Regions from separate parts of the Homo sapiens genome. Here region 1 is linked to region 2. The links are contacts of gene promoters, found by promoter capture Hi-C in blood cells and fetal thymus (Javierre and others, 2016). All regions are on one chromosome and are shown on one strand. The core of a region is centred on a gene start or on the middle of the fragment in contact, and the rest is flanking DNA. Distances in the headings are between cores, read along the strand shown.

Region 1 (2,783 bases), core at 13-2,512, 41 kb before region 2:
TAAGCGCCTACTTTGTGCTGGCACCAACCTATGCTCAGCTGCTTTCTTGCATAAACTCCTGCCCTCAAGGAGCTTACATTCCATTAAAGAGACACACAATATTCAAATGAATAGAGATCTATAATGAAAGATAGTGAAAGTGCTTTGAAAAAATAAATAAAGCAGTGCAAGTAATAAAGAACGTTGGAGTGCCATTTTATAAAAATATGTTTAGGAAAAGGACATACTGGGTCCAGGGTATTCATGCAGAATAACTAAAGGGAGGGAGGAAGCTGTGGAAGTCTCTAGAAGTTTCAGGTAGAAGAAGCAATAAGCGCAAGACCTTGAGGTAGGTAGGAAGGATCTGCACCTGTTTTAGGCACACCAGGAAGGCCAGTGTGGCTGGAGACAGTGAGGGAGAAGGAAAGTAGAAACAGATCAGATCAGAGAAGCAGCTAACCAAGCTATGGAAGCCTTGCGGGTCCCTGTGATAAGAAGGGTTTTCAGCAGGTTCATAACATGATCTGACTGCTGAGTAGCAAACAGATTATAAAAGCACATGATGGATTCAGGGACACTAGACAGTGCCATTTGCCAGGGTAAAAATGATGGTGGCACTGACCAAAGAAGTGGCAGTGAAAATGCTAAGATTGTCAGATTGAGGAATATTTTCAAGGTAAAGCCAACAGTATTTGTATCTAAAGTGCATGCAGAATTTAATAAAAAGAGAAGGATCCACAATGACTCCAACGTTTTTGGCCTAAACAAGTGAAAGAGTAGTGGTGAAATGGAAAGACCAAAGTAAGAGCAGGTTTACGGGGGCTGGAGGTCAAGAGTGTAATTTTGAATTCATTGAGTTTGAGATGCCTATTACACATCCAAGGGGAAATGTCCATACATAAAAAGCTTAAGTAGGTAGATAGATATAAAAAGCTTGAGTTCAAGGAAGAGTTTGAGACCCAATAGAAATTTAGGACTTAAGCCTTAAATTGTTATCTACATTCCTTTTGATTTCCTCCACATTCTATGTGGAATTTAGGACAACGTAAATCATTAAAATATAAGAAGGCAGGTGAAAAATGATCTCAAGATTTTAATTATTGTCCGGTGTTAGTAAGCGCATCCTTTCCCACCTCAAGAACATAGTTTAGTTTTCAACAAAAGTTGCACACTTTTTTTGAAGTTTTTGTTTTTTAGTCTTCATTTTTCTATTTCTTGTTTCCAAAATCAAAGAAGAAATCAGAAAAGAAAATATAAAATCTTCAAGATTGTTCTGAATGAAAGTTGTTGAAAATCTTAAGGATTGTTCTTCAGGAACTAACAAGATCCTATGCTAATAAGTATTACTTATTAATACAGTAATAAGTAGCCTAAGAACTTATTAATACTTTAATAAGTAGCTTAGGAACTTACTAAGAAGGATAAAAGAATTTTTGAGATTTAAAAACATCTGTTTTATTCTTACAGTAAAAACAGTTCTGTTTGTTATCTCATCACGTCCTATAGAGAAAGTGAGTAGCAAGTTCCCTTAATAAAGTTTTCAAATAAGGCAGTTTTTTCAATTAATTTTTTAATTAACTTCTAATTTAATTGCATTATAGTTTGAGAATGTGGTCTGAATGATACAAGCTTTTTTAAATTTGTTGAGACTTACCTAAATTTGTCTTCTGACTTACCATATGATTACAAATTTTTGTAAATGCTGTGTGTTCAGATATACGTTTTCAGTAAGTGAATTTTCTTTTGCACAACTTGTTCTCCTCGGATGTCTCACTTATTTCCCCTGTGAGCTCACATTTTCATGGAATCATCAGTGTCCCCAGCTAGGAGAAGTGTGAAGGCCTGTATCTTTTTTGTTCCCTGCTTGATGAGCGCAGAGGCTGGGATGGGATTGAAGCACCTCTGGGCAGCATTCTTGGTAATGAGGTCTGGACTCAACCCCTGTCATTCTCATTCACTCTTATCAGTGAATCCTCCTCTCAGGGACCCCTCAGAAATTCAGTCTTAGGCTTTGAGTATTTCTGGGGGCTGCTACTATGTCTATAATGGCCTCCCCAGCCATGAGGAACAGTGAGTCAATTAAACTTCTTTCCTTTATAAGTTACCCAGTCTCTAGCCTGGGGAGGAGTGAAGGAAGGGATCTCTCAGGAGCTGGTGAGGCTGACTACACACCTTGTTATGGACATCCCATCTCTGCTGACATCCAACATCAATTTCACATTAATTTATTCAAAAATATTCATTGAATCCCTATTTGACCCTTGGGTTACATCAGGAAACAAAACAAAATCCCTTGCCTTTGTACAACTTCCAGTGTACAAGGAGAAGACAGGCAATAAGCAGTAGACATAATAAGTCATCAAATTATACAGCATGTTAGAAAATAAGGCTTATAGAAAACATAATAACTGTAGGGCAGTGCCCAGACATTTGAGAATCATGAGCTGGGGAGGTAGCTTGTAATTTTAAGTAGATCAGCCAGGAAAGCCCTCACTAAGAAGATATAAAATAGCTTCTTAATGAGAAAGAAAATCCATTTTCTTTTCTGGGTGGCTCTGTGTTCCCATCCAAATCTCATCTCAAAAGGTAATCCCCAGGTGTTGAGGGAGGTACCTGCTGGGAGGTGACTGAATCTTGGGGGTGGTTACCTCCATGCTGTTCTCATGATAGTGAGTGAGTTCCCACGAGATCCGATGGTTTTATAAGTGTTTGGCAGTTCCTCCTTCTATTGCTTTTTCTCTTTTTTTCCTGCCACCTTGCAAAGAGGTGTCTGCTTCCCCTTCACCTTCTGCCATAATTGTAGG
Region 2 (3,007 bases), core at 23-2,522:
TACCTTTGCTGGCTCACAGTGCTCAATTACCATGTAATTGAAGTGATATGTGATTAATTAAATTTTTTAGCTCCAGCATATTTGGAGTGTTTCCCATGATGTATTAGAGTCAAAAGCCATGGTGTTCTCCCAAGTAATGTATAATATAATAAAAGAGACAGACCTATTACAAAATGAATAGGCAGTGCAGTGGGATAGAAAAAGCACTGAGCTACTATCTGTGTGAGCTGGGAGAAGTATAATAAGTTAAATTATCATCTTGGCCTCACTTTCATTTTTGGTAAGAATGGAGTCATTGGGCTAGAATCTGTAGGTAATGGATTCTTACTGCTATACGTAGAATAACCATTTTGTGTACTAAGGACCAATGCAGCCCTACCTGTAGCTGGGCAGCAGCCAGAGTCAGAGTGATTGGAAGAAAAAAATTGGATCTCCAAGTTGAAGGTCTAGCCTTGGAAGAATCTGTTACTATAAAATGAGAAGCAGAATAAGTAAGCCAGATGAAGAGTTAAACCCGTGCTTGTAGATTTTTGTTGGCTTGGTATTTTTTTGTGTTTAATTCAAGAAGAATTAGAGGCAGTGTTCCCCATTAAGAAAAGACATAAACTGATTAAAAGGAGACCCAAAGAAGGGAATTATCACTGCTCTGCTAAGGGACGTGGAAGGTGAGGGGACACAGCACAGTTGTATATAGAGTGGCCACTAATCCAGCCACACAGCAGCATTTCCATCTGCCTCCTGCCATCTTTCCCCTGTATGGAGAACCACAGGATTTTGGTGATGTTCTATTTCTTGACTTTGGTGACGGTTACAGTATTTGCTTAATTATTATTTCATTATTTACATGTTTTGTGCACTTTTCCAAACCTTTTAATTGTTAAGAATATATGGTACCATGTATTTAAGAATACATGGTACCATATAATAAGAATATATATTTAAGAATATATATTATTCTTTAAGAATATATGGTACCATAATGTCCTGAATGATACCTATGAGAGCAGTCATTTGACTTTGGCAAAAAAATGAGGTTTCTCATGGAGTCAATTTATGCAGCAGACAGAAAAAAAAATCCTTTGAAAGACAAATACATTGTGTGCTTCCTGCCAATAACGATGTAATACTTCCTCGTTTTAGTTAATGAAAAATAACACATACTTTCAAAGTTCTGTAGACTCTAAAAAGAAAGAAAACACTCAAATGAGTCACCTATTTCCACATTCGAGGCTGAGAAGCTATATAAATTTCTGCAGTCACTAGCAGAAAACACCAAATCAACCATAGGTCCAAGAACAATTGTCTCTGGACGGCAGCTATGCGACTCACCGTGCTGTGTGCTGTGTGCCTGCTGCCTGGCAGCCTGGCCCTGCCGCTGCCTCAGGAGGCGGGAGGCATGAGTGAGCTACAGTGGGAACAGGCTCAGGTATGTCACAGCCCACTTACTTAGGGTTCCATTCTTTTGCCATCTGCATTAAGAAATGTGTTTTTCAATTATTTCCCTTCCCATGTTAGCATTGCAGTGGAATTTTCTTTGGGGTGGTTCTTCGGATTATAAAAGCAATATATGTTTTCATCAAGTAGCCATTAAAAGCAGGTTTCAGAATCTGCTCAAATCGGGCTTGAGTTCCAACCCTCCACTCACTATGTAGATAGACTCAGGAAGGTCATCAAACTTCTCTAAGCTTCAGGTTTCCAATTTGGAAGTTGGAGATAAGAATGGTATCAACCAAATGAGGGTGTTGTGAAGCATTCAACACAATACCTGAAACATTGTTTAAATTAAGTTCTTATTTTTATTTATTATAACTTGAGATTCTTTTTCTATAGTATACAGAATATTGCCTCTTAAGATACAACCTGTAAATATACTGTTTGTGTATTTACAATACTGTTTGTAATGGAGATATCTGAAGTCAGAAAACATGGGTAGAAATTACAACTCTCCAACAAGTCAATGACAATAGACAAGGCATTAACATCTGACTTTGTTTTCTCATGTGTCCAGTAGAAAAAATAATATTATGTGTTTTATACCTCATGGGGTATTCTAGTAAGTAAATGAGGTGATAACAAAACCAACTAGCATGTATGTAACAATTGTAGATTATAAAGTACTTATATAGACATTGTGTCATTTAATCCTTAGTTCTATAAAAAGAGGAAACCAAAGTTAAACTGATTAGTGTACTTATTAGTGGTAGAGATAGAAATCAAGGACAAGTGCTTCTGGTTCAAAAATCATGTTCCTTGCAATATGCTTCTTAATAAGCAGTCTAATAAATATAAGCAGTCTACTAATTATTATTTGGTTAACTAATGGGATGATTACTTATAACTATTATTTGTAAATTTAGGCCTTAAGCATAAGAAAAGTCAATTTTTAATTCACATTAACTTAGACTTTTAAAAAGTTCCAGTTATAATAAGTTAGATTGAACCACATAAAGTTACTAGTATTTAACTTTTAAAATCTCCAAAACAGTAGTTTTATATGGTTCCACCTAATGAATTCTCCAGAAAGAGTACTCTGCGTTTAGTTTCTTTACTTAGAGTGAAGGTTGGCAGAAACTTAGTCTTCACTTGGAGGGATGTTAGCTAGGTTTAACAAAAAAACAGGAAAAGTCATCTCAACAAAGCAGAGAGATTTCTTCCAGAGGGTGTCTTGGTAAAGTCTGTAGCTCTAGAAGGGATTAAATGGGTTATTTGTTTTTAAATAAAGGATCAGTTATCAATTGTCATGGATGAACAATAAGTATTTGTTGTATTTAATGAGACAATTGTTGGTAACAGGAAAAAAAGACACAATATTAATAAGATTTCTTACATAAATTGCATATTCCTGGGCGGTCCTAAGACAGGTAACCATTACCATCTACTCCAAATAAACTGCAAATTAGTGAGCCAATGTTTAAATCATTTTAACAACAATATTATCAGGCATCATATAACCCTACACATGTTTCTAATGTATAGAAGTCAGAACACTTGAGTTCAAATACTGGTT

Evidence for each region. Contacts are between HindIII fragments. The CHiCAGO score rates a contact against its expected background, and 5 or more counts as called.
Region 1: a contact is called between a fragment that was not itself captured here and the fragment with the promoter of MMP7 in region 2, in 3 of 17 cell types (naive B cells, M1 macrophages and M0 macrophages). The highest score is 6.4, in naive B cells.

The regions. Positions count from the first base shown.
Region 1 is chr11:102,569,783-102,572,565 of GRCh38, reverse strand. No RefSeq gene overlaps it. Among named protein-coding and RNA genes, the nearest start is that of MMP7, 40 kb to the right of the region's middle. The HindIII fragment of the contact is 696 bases long and covers 915-1,610 here.
Region 2 is chr11:102,529,012-102,532,018 of GRCh38, reverse strand. MMP7 (matrix metallopeptidase 7) reads left to right here and starts at 1,272. Exons shown (of 6, transcript NM_002423.5): 1 at 1,272-1,426. The coding sequence starts at 1,319. The HindIII fragment of the contact is 6,591 bases long and covers 1-1,687 here.